2 separate regions of the Homo sapiens genome follow, and region 2 is linked to region 1. Evidence: promoter capture Hi-C in 16 types of primary human blood cells and fetal thymus (Javierre and others, 2016). All regions are on one chromosome and are shown on one strand. The core of a region is centred on a gene start or on the middle of the fragment in contact, and the rest is flanking DNA. Distances in the headings are between cores, read along the strand shown.

What was found. The method cuts DNA at HindIII sites, captures the fragments that hold promoters and counts their contacts. A CHiCAGO score of 5 or more calls a contact.
Region 2: a contact is called between a fragment that was not itself captured here and the fragment with the promoter of MGARP in region 1, in 2 of 17 cell types (erythroblasts and M2 macrophages). The highest score is 5.5, in erythroblasts.

Annotation. Positions count from the first base shown.
Region 1 is chr4:139,277,432-139,282,421 of GRCh38, forward strand. It overlaps MGARP (mitochondria localized glutamic acid rich protein), which reads right to left and starts at 2,794. Exons shown (of 4, transcript NM_032623.4): 1 at 2,646-2,794. The coding sequence starts at 2,727. RefSeq lists an enhancer at 2,549-2,758. The HindIII fragment of the contact is 26,288 bases long and covers 1-4,990 here.
Region 2 is chr4:139,223,839-139,228,570 of GRCh38, forward strand. All of the region lies in intron 2 of LOC105379412 (a long non-coding RNA gene), which reads left to right. Among named protein-coding and RNA genes, the nearest start is that of ELF2, 49 kb to the left of the region's middle. The HindIII fragment of the contact is 4,075 bases long and covers 147-4,221 here.

The DNA.
Region 1 (4,990 bases), core at 1,544-4,043:
CATCTGTGATCAAATAGGGAATATATAGCCTTCATATTTCTCAAACAGACAAAAATATCAGAAATATTTTTTAAATAGAACTAAAATTACCAGAGATTTAAGTAGACTTAAATACAAATACAATGATGGACAAGTTACTTAAAAAGACAATGAAATGAGAAATTTTTCAATAAGGATTAATTAGACAAATTTTAGCACATTCATACAATGTGAAACAAATAGACATAACTTTTGCAGAACAATATTTACTTACATGAGAAAATATTTACAATGTATTAGGTGAAAAGTCATAGCAAAATACTCTGGGACTATCCAAGATTTGTGGAAATAATGTGCACAAGGAAGGAATGAGGGGAAAAAAAAGGTCTGGAAAACTAAATATACTAAAACGTAATTAGTTGTGTTCACTGAGTGGTAGGATTACAGGTGAATTCCATTTTTTATTTTACCTGTTTTTCCCCAATTATCTATTATAAATCTAAATTATTTATTCATTAAAAAGTTACCCTTTTAAGGCTGGGCTCGGTGGCTCACACCTGTAATCCCAGCACTTTGGGAGGCCGAGGTAGGTGGATCACCTTAGGTTGGGAGTTCAAGACCAGCCTGACCAACATGGAGAAACCCCATCTCTACTAAAAATGCAAAATTAGCTGGGTGTGGTGGCCCGTGCCTGTAATCCCAGCTACTCCGGAGGCTGAGGCAGGAGAATCACTTGGATCCGGGAGGCGGAGGTTGTGGTGAGCCGAGATCACGCCATTGCACTCCAGCCTGAGCAACAAGAGTGAAACTCTGTCTCAAAAAAATAAAATTACCCTTTTAAAAGCAAAAAGGAGAGAACAAAATGTGATGAGACACAGTTAAAAATTTTTCCTTCAATAAAACTGAAAAAAATTATTTTTCATCAAAGTAGAAAGTATGAACAAAAGGTTAAGTAATGTCCACGACTGAAGACAAATTTGTTTCCAATCAATAATAGTTCTTAAATACATTTTAAGTGCTGCAAAAATAGTTAGATGAAAATCAGAGAAAGACCAGTACCTTTACAAGCAGCATTGCTAGATACGTATTTAAAATTTTTAAACTACTTCTATTTTGCCGCAAATTGGGAAGAAAATTATTTGGAATTTCTGCAGCTACAAAAAAAAGGTGCGCGTGTGTGTGTGTGTGTTTGTGTGTGCGTGCACGCGCGCATGATGTCGGTGGGGAACGCAGACAGATAAAACGAAAGGCCACGGTCAGAGGACTAATCTTTCTCCCCGTTCTCAACAGAACAGTCCCGTTATCTTCCGAAGTTTAAAATAAATGGCTTCTCCCTACTTCATCAGTGTATATATATATTTAAAAGCTCTATATCATTTGGTATAAAGATCTAGAAAAATAAAGGCAATAAAGATCTAGGAAAACGAAGATGTCTTATTTCTGATACTTGAGGGATAACTTCCTTCCACCAGCATTTTACAAGAAAAATAAAGCGAGTTAGTTAGACCTCCGTCCTTCCCTCCCACCACCACCAACAGAGGCCTAATCAACGTGAAAAAAAAATCGGCCCATGGAATTCTCCGCGCACATCTTTCTCTCCTGCTGGAATCCACCCTCTGGGGTAAAATTATCTCGGAAGGCTCAGAAAGTGAGGCTAAGTGAAGAGAGCATTAAGAACCCTTCACGATATTGTCTAAGAGCCGTCCCCCAGTCGTGAGTGGAAGAGAGAGGGGTGACGGATGGGGACTAGGGAAAAGCGGCTGGGGCAGAACCGCCCTGGAGCGCAAGCCTGGTCCCAGAAGAAAAACAATCTTCCTTGCTCACACCTATTAAGCACCTACTATGTTCCCAGCACTATACGAAGCGCTTTCCTATATGTCCGTTTTTATTTAATAAGCCTCCAGTTCACACTGCAACTCCCCCTTTAGTTAATTGCTGAGTATTCTGCTTTTTCTCGCGTATCCTCAGAACCAAAGGTGTCGATATTTGGACTACAGAGCCAAGCAGTTGCAGGACGACGTGCAACCTCAAAGGAAAGTGTCCCGAAGGCCGCTTCCTTTTTGGGGGTTGTGGATCTCAGAGCCAGGCGCTCGCGGGGTTCAGGCTGCTGAGACCCTGCCAAGGGTTAGGTTTATTTACCCCACGAACATTCGCCCAGCGTCCACTGAGCGGGCCCTGCCTCACTGCCTCCCAGCGCTTGCCGGGCCCGCTCGCTGATCGGCGTCCACCTTCCCACCGTTCCTCTGCTTCCTCAGGAGATTGGAGAGCGAATGGTGCCTCTAACAATAAAAGTGGTAAGCTGCGACTTTGTCAGCCAGGCACGTTTTTAAGTGCTTTTAACCATACATTAACTCATTAAAAAGGAAAACCATCATCGCCCTCATTTTATAGATGAGGAAACAGGTTAAGCCATTTGTCCAAGATCAGGATGCGAACCCAGATAATCTGGACTCTGAGGCACCCTGGAAAAGTTCCCTACTTCCAAAGTCTGCAGGAGCTTCGGGACGTCTTCCCGGGAGTCTCCCCCAGTCTCCTCGACCTCCAATCCAGGCTTCTGCTGCTCTGGGTCGGGTTTGGCCAACTGGGTGCCGGCCGGTTCCCTGGCGCGGGCGAAATCTGCACCCGAGGCGCCCGTCCTCCTCTCCGGGCTAGACCTCCTTACTCACCGTCCTTTCCGAGCGGCGCGGGGTTGGGGGGCGCCCTCAGCGGCAGCGCCAGAGTCTTGGAGACCGCCCTGCGGAGATACATCGCGCCCGCTGTCCGCCGCGCAGCAGCCTCGGTACCCAGGCGCAGGCTGCCCTTCCACAGAGAGGCTGAGAGCCTGGCAGCGCCCCGCCCGGAGGAGGCACGTCGACCTTCATCCAGCCCCGCCTCCGCGGCCCCCGGGAGGTGGGGAGACCTTTGTAGTCCTCACCATCCTCCCCTAACCCATCTCCAGCTCTGTTGCTATCCCTGAGGTCTCTAGAGCTGACCGCGGCATCTCAGAAAAGGGATGGGGAACCTACAAGTCGCCGTCGCCTGCCTGGCTCATTCTGTACCACTGAATGTAACTCCTCACAGCAAGCTGGAAATGTTTTGGGAATTGGACGAGATTAAGACAAGGACACAGTTTATCACGCTGGATGTAATCTGAAACCATTTTATCTCCTGCATTCCGTTAGCTTTCCTAGGAGAGGGAAGGATAGCTGGAAGTTTCTTAAAAATGAGAAGAGCGAAGGGGTAGCCTCAGCCTTCCATTAGCGCACTGGGTGATGCTCAGAATCGTAAGAAAATCTGCAGACAATGGTTGAATTTCTAGACAGCTCACTGTTAAAACGACTTTAAAATATCAAAAACACTGTATATTCCTCTATGGGATGTGAAATTAATATTTCCACATCAGCGGCCGGGCACAGTGGCTCACGTTTATAATCCCAGCACTTTGGGAGGCCGAGGCAGGCGGATCACTTGAGGTCAGGAGTTGGAGAGCAGCCTGGGCAACATGGTGAAACCCCGTTTCTACTAAAAATACAAAAAATTAGCCGGGAGTGGTGGCGCGGGCCTGTAATCCCAGCTACTCGGGACGCTAAGGCAGGAGAATCGCTTGAACCCGGGAGGCGGAGGTCGCAGTGAGCCGAGATCATGCCACTACATTCAAGCCTGGGTGACAGAGCAAGACCCTGTCTCAAAAGCAAAACAAAACAAAACAAAAACCCCAAAAACAAAACAAAACAAACAAAACAAAAAAACACATCAACTAAAAATACTAAATTATTAGTTTTCCGTCTCATCGTGGCTACAAGAACTTGTCATGGTTTGAATATGGAAACCAATAATTTATTACGTTTATAACATTGTCTAAATGATTACTCTTTGGAAGACACCATTTCCTACTATAATAATCCCTTATGTGTGTTTGGCACTTGAAAGATTATAAAGCACTTTCACATCTATTATCTCTTTTAATTTTCACTGCAACCCTCTGAGGGAGGTGGCAATTATTCCCTTTAGCAAATGCCACCACCAGGTGGTGGGTGGGAATGTCCAGGGATTTACTGGTGGTCATGAATTAAAAAACAAAAAGGACATGAACATAATACTTCTAGCTTAAAGTTCTATTGGCATGTAACAGGCACAATATTTGTTCATTTGCTATGTAAATAGACGTTTCTCAGAAGTTATAGTCCTGAACCTAATTATAATTATATTTAACATATTCTCATAAGAAGAGTACAAGCCAATGATCAGATTGGTTTTTTGATACTCAGAAAGAGAGTTAACTAGTTTAATCACTAGGGTGACAGAGCGAGACTCAGTCTCAAAAAAAAAAAAAGTTTACAACATAGATGGGTGTGGTGGTACATGCCTGCAGTCCCAGCTACTCCAGAGGCTGAGGTGGGAGAACTGATTGAGCTCAGGAGGTCAAGACTGCAGTGAGCTGAGATCTTGCCACTGCACTCCAGCCTGGGTGACAGAGTGAGACCCTGTCTCAAAAAAAAAAAAAAAAAAAAAAAAAATCACACACAGTGGCTCACAGCACTTTGGGAGGTGGAGGCAGAAGGATTGCTCGTGCTAGGGAGTTCAAGTCCAGCCTGGCAAATATGGCAAAACCTCATCTGTTTCTTTTTCAGAAAGAAAAAAAAAAGGCACATTAGATATGAAATGTAAAAAATAAAGTAAAAAAAATAAAGGATATAAAATGTGCTCAGCTAGTTGGAGGAGGCAGTGCTAGATTCTGACTTCCAGCCTAAGGTGAAGCTCAAGGCTCTCCTGCTACACTCTGCTGCCTTTCAGTGTGGCACATGGCCGGATTCATTATATCCCACCATCTCTTATTAGATGGTACGGTCCAGTGGGAGGTTATCATGCTCTCTAGGTTGAATATGGCCATACCAGCTGGGATATAAAAGAACTGTGAGATAAATAGTTCCATTTCTCCAGATTATTTTCCTTAGTTAAAAGCTCATGCCTTTCAAGTTGAAGGGAATTTCTATCTACTCAGCTGCTCCTGTGGCTTTCCGTTTTGATGGCA
Region 2 (4,732 bases), core at 934-3,433, 54 kb before region 1:
ACTGTCATATCTGGCAAGTTGGTGCTGGCTGTTGGCAGGAAGCCTCAGTTCCTCTGCATGTGGGCCTCTCTTCTTGAGCTGCTTGAATGTTCTCATTTCATGCTTGCCAGCTTCCCCCAGAGCAGGCAATCCCAGATTAAGAGAGAAGCTTCAATGAATTCTATTATCTTGATTTGGAAGTCATGCAGCATCTTTTCCACCATATTCTATTGGTCATACAGAACAGCCCTGAATCAGTGTGGCAGTAGACTATACAATGGTATGAATACCAGGAGGCAAGGACAATTGGAAGCCATCTTAGAAGCTGGTGTATTAGTCAGGGTTCTCTGCAGGCACAGAACTAATAGGATAGATGTATATATGAAGGGGAGTTTATTAAGGAGTTATTATTGACTCATGATCACAAGATGAAGTCTCACAATAGGCCACCTGCAAGCTGAGCAGCAAGGAAGTCAGAGTCCCGAAACCTCAAAAGTAAGGAAGCCAACAATGCCGCCTTCAGTCTGCAGCTAAAGGCCCCTGGAAAACCACTGGTGTAAGTCCAAGAGGCCAAAAGCTGAAGAACTTGTAGTCTGATGTTCAAGGGCAGGAAGCATCCAGCGTGGGAGAAAGATGAAGGCAGGAAGCATCCAGCGTGGGAGAAAGATGAAGGCCGGAAGACTCAGCAAGTCAAGTCCTTCCAAATTTTGCCTGCTTTATCCTAGCTGTGCTGGCAGCTGATTAGATGGTGCCCACCCAGATTGAGGGAGGGTCCGCCTCTCCCAGTCCACTGACTCAATGTTAATCTCCTTTGGCAACACCCTTACAGACACACCCAGAAGCAATACTCTGCATCCTTCAATCCAATCAAGTTGACACTCAGTGTTAACCATCGTAGCCAGCTATTGCATAGGTTTAGATACAATATTAACCATGACAACAATTAAAAAAAATCTTTTTAGAGATGAGGTCTTGCTATATTGCCCAGCCTGGAATGCAGTGACTATTCACAAGTGCAATCATAATAATGCACTACAGCCTCAAATTCCTGGCCTCAAGTGATCCTCCGTCTTCAGCCTACCAAGTAGCTGAGACTATAGGTGCACGCCACCATGCCTGGCCTGACATCAATTTTTTATATGGGAAAATAGATATTGAACACAATAATACAAAATATTAGCTGGGCCTAGTGCATGGACCATAGTCTCTGGCACTCTAGAGGCTGAGGTAGGAGGATTGCTTGAGCCCTGGAGTTTGAGGGTGCAATGAGCTATGATTGTGCCACTGCACTCCAGCCTGAGTGACAGATCAAGACTCTGACTCTAAAACAACAACAATAATGATAATAAATAATTGATGATTTGCTCAAATGAACACCAGAAAACAAATATACAAAATATATGAATTATTATTATCTTTATTATATCATTCCTGGGCTCAAGTGATCATCCCGCCTCATCCTCCCAAAGTGCTGTGATTACAGGTGTGAGATTGCCTGTACCCAAATGCACTCAACCTCAAGCTGTATTTGTATATTTAATTTATAATTGTTGATTCAAATGTACTCAAATTTTGTATACTTTGAATGCAGTTACATTTTATTTTGAATCTTTTTTTTTTCTTTTTTTTAGAAACAGGGTCTTGCTCTGTCGCCCAGGGTAGAGTACAGTGGCACGATCTTGGCTCACTGCAACCTCTGCCTCTCGGGTTCAAGTGATTCTCATGCCTCAGCCTCCCGAGTAGCTGGGATTACAGGAGCCCGCCACCATGCCTGGCTTATTTTTGTATTTTTAGTAGAAATGGAGTTTCACCACATTGGCCAGGCTGGTCTCGATCTCCTGACCTCAGGTGATCCACCCGTCTCAGCCTCCCAAAGTGCTGGGATTACAGGCATGAGCCACTGTGCCCAACATTAGTTTTGAATCTTTTAGATCATGGTTATCATTAACATACAAATTTTGTTAAAATCTTGATTATAACAACATAATTGGCTGGGCACAGTGACTCATGCCTGTAATCCTAACACCTTGGAAGGCTGAGGCAGGAGGACTGCTTGAGGCCAGGAGTTCAAGACCTGTCTAGGCAACACAGAGAGACCCCATCTCTATAAAAAATACAAAATATTGGCTGGGCGTGGTGGCTCACGCCTGTAATCCCAGCACTTTGGGAGGCCGAGGCTGGTGGATCACAAGGTCAGGAGTTCGAGACCAGCCTGGCCAACATGGTGAAACCCTGTCTCTACTAAAAATATAAAAAATTAGCCGGGTGTGGTGGCACGTGCCTGTAATCTCAGCTATTCGAGATGCTGAGGCAGGAGAATCGCTTGAACTTGGGAGGTGGAGGTTGCAGTGAGCCAAGATCATGCCACTGCACTCCAGCCTGGGTGACAGAGTGAGATTCCATCTCAAAAAAAAAAAATTACCTGGGTATGTTGGCATTTGACTGTAGTCTCTGCTTCTCAGCAAGCTGAGGCAGGAGGATTGCTTGAGCACAGGAGTTTGAGGCTACAGTCAGTGAGCTATGATTGTGCCACTGCACTCCAGCTTGGGTGACAGAGCAAGACCCTGGCTCTAAATAAAATAATAAAAAATAATTGGTGATTCGCTGAAATGAACCTCATGAAATAAATTCATAAAAATTTATGAATTATTATGGTCTTCATTATATCACTTATTAATAGACTATCCAGACAATAACAATTAGATGGCAAATGTGCAATAATAACTAAATTCAGTCATCTAATAATTTGCCAATTTTGGCCAGGTGCAGTGGCTCACGCCTATAATCCCAGCACTTTGGGAGGCCAAGGCAGGCAGATCACTTGAGGTCAGGGCTTCAAGACCAGCCTGGCCAACATGGAGAAACCCCATCTCTACTAAAAATACAAAATTAGCCTGTAATCCCAGCTACTCGGGAGGCTGAGGCAGAATTGCTTGAACCCGGTAGGCAGAGTTTGCAGTGAGCTGAGATCATGCCATTGCACTCCAGCCTGGGCAACAAGAGCGAAACTCTGTCTCAAAAAAGAAAAAAAAATTTGCCAATTTCTGTTTGTATGAAAAACCACAGCTTTATATACATTTCAGTTTTATTGCTCTGAAGGTATATTTTCCATGGAAAGAGGATAGATTTTATTAAACAGTCTGTTAACTTGGTTTACATTTTACACATATATAGATAAATAGTATGTGGGCATATGTTTGAATTTTTTTTTTTTTTTTTTGAGACGGAATCTCGCTTTCACCCAGGCTGGAGTGCAGTGGCGTGATCTCAGCTCACTGCAACCTCCGCCTCCTGGGTTCAAGTGATTCTCCTGCCTCGGCCTCCCGAGTAGCTGGGACTACAGGCCCCTGCCACCATGCCCGGCTAATTTTTTTTTGTATTTTTAGTAGAGACGAGGTTTCACCATGTTGGTCAGGCTGGTCTCGAACTCCTGACCTCATGATCCACCTGCCTTGGCCTCCCAAAGTGCTGGGATTACAGGCATGAGCCACTGTACCCGGCATATTTGAATTCTTGAGCTGCTTACCTGACTTGCAGCCCTCTTGGGGTAAGGGATGGAGGATTAGAGCCTTTCCTGGTCAGTTTACCATGTGTGAACACTTATGGAGGGACAGGGCTAGGAGAGGAAATAGACCTATTATATGTTTTTGTGGCAAAATAAAATCTGCACCATGGAATTTGCCCAATCACGTATGTCTAAATTGAGGGGGCATAAGCCCCCACAATACCCAAGGAATTCTAGTCTGGCAGGCAGGGCATATCAGCAGGCGTCTCCTGGCAGGAAGATGTTATTCAGAGTTAGGTAAATGGCAGTATTGGGTGGTCTGTCTAGCTCCAATAGGACCCAGATCAATTATATGTGATGAAGACTCAGTCCAACCCCAGGGAAAGAAAAGTGGCAAAACTTAAACATATAATGAATAGCCACATCCAATAAGTTTGTAGTCAGGAAAGATTCTACTTCCTGTAGAGGATCCTGGTGCCTAAAGCAGACACTGCAGTGAAAGTCTAGGGACATACAACCTGTGCAAGCACAGAAGGTTATGAGAAGGATGAAACTTAGAGGGTGGGTACTAGGGTCCCAAAGCTAGCACAGGAATGCGGAAGTAGTGGAAGTACAGGGCTGCCAGTCCAATTAATCTCAGACACCACCTGTGGGTAAAAATAGGTTATTGCTGAGGGCTGTCTCCAGAATTGGGGAGGCAGTGGTTACAGGGCTGGCTCTGGAAAAGCAGACTGTCAAGCTTCAATAGTTGCCTAGGAAGGAGCTATTTTTGAGTAGAAAGTCTTTCAGCACCCATCACACACAGCATCTGAATAACCCACTCACACAAAACCCTAGTTTTTGTTTTTTATTTTTTGAGACAGGGTCTTGCTCTGTTGCCCAGGCTAGAGTGCAGTGGTGCCATCATGGCTCACTGCAGCCTCAAACTCCCAGGCTCAAGAAATCCTTCCACCTTAGCCTACCATGTAGCTGGGACTAACGTTGTGTGCCACCATGTCAGGTTAATTTTTTTATTTTTTGTAGTATAGTGATCTCACTGCATGTCCAGGCTGGACTTGAATTCCTGAGTTCAAGAGATTCTCCCACCTCAGCTACCCAAAGTGCTGGGATTACAAGTGTCAGCCACCACACCTGGCCAAAACATTAGTTTTAAGCAGAAACAAATTCTGGTTTGTGTTTTTAAAATACTTTTTTTTTTTTTAATACTCAGGTTGCTGAATGACAGTATGCTTCAGTGGTACTATTCTA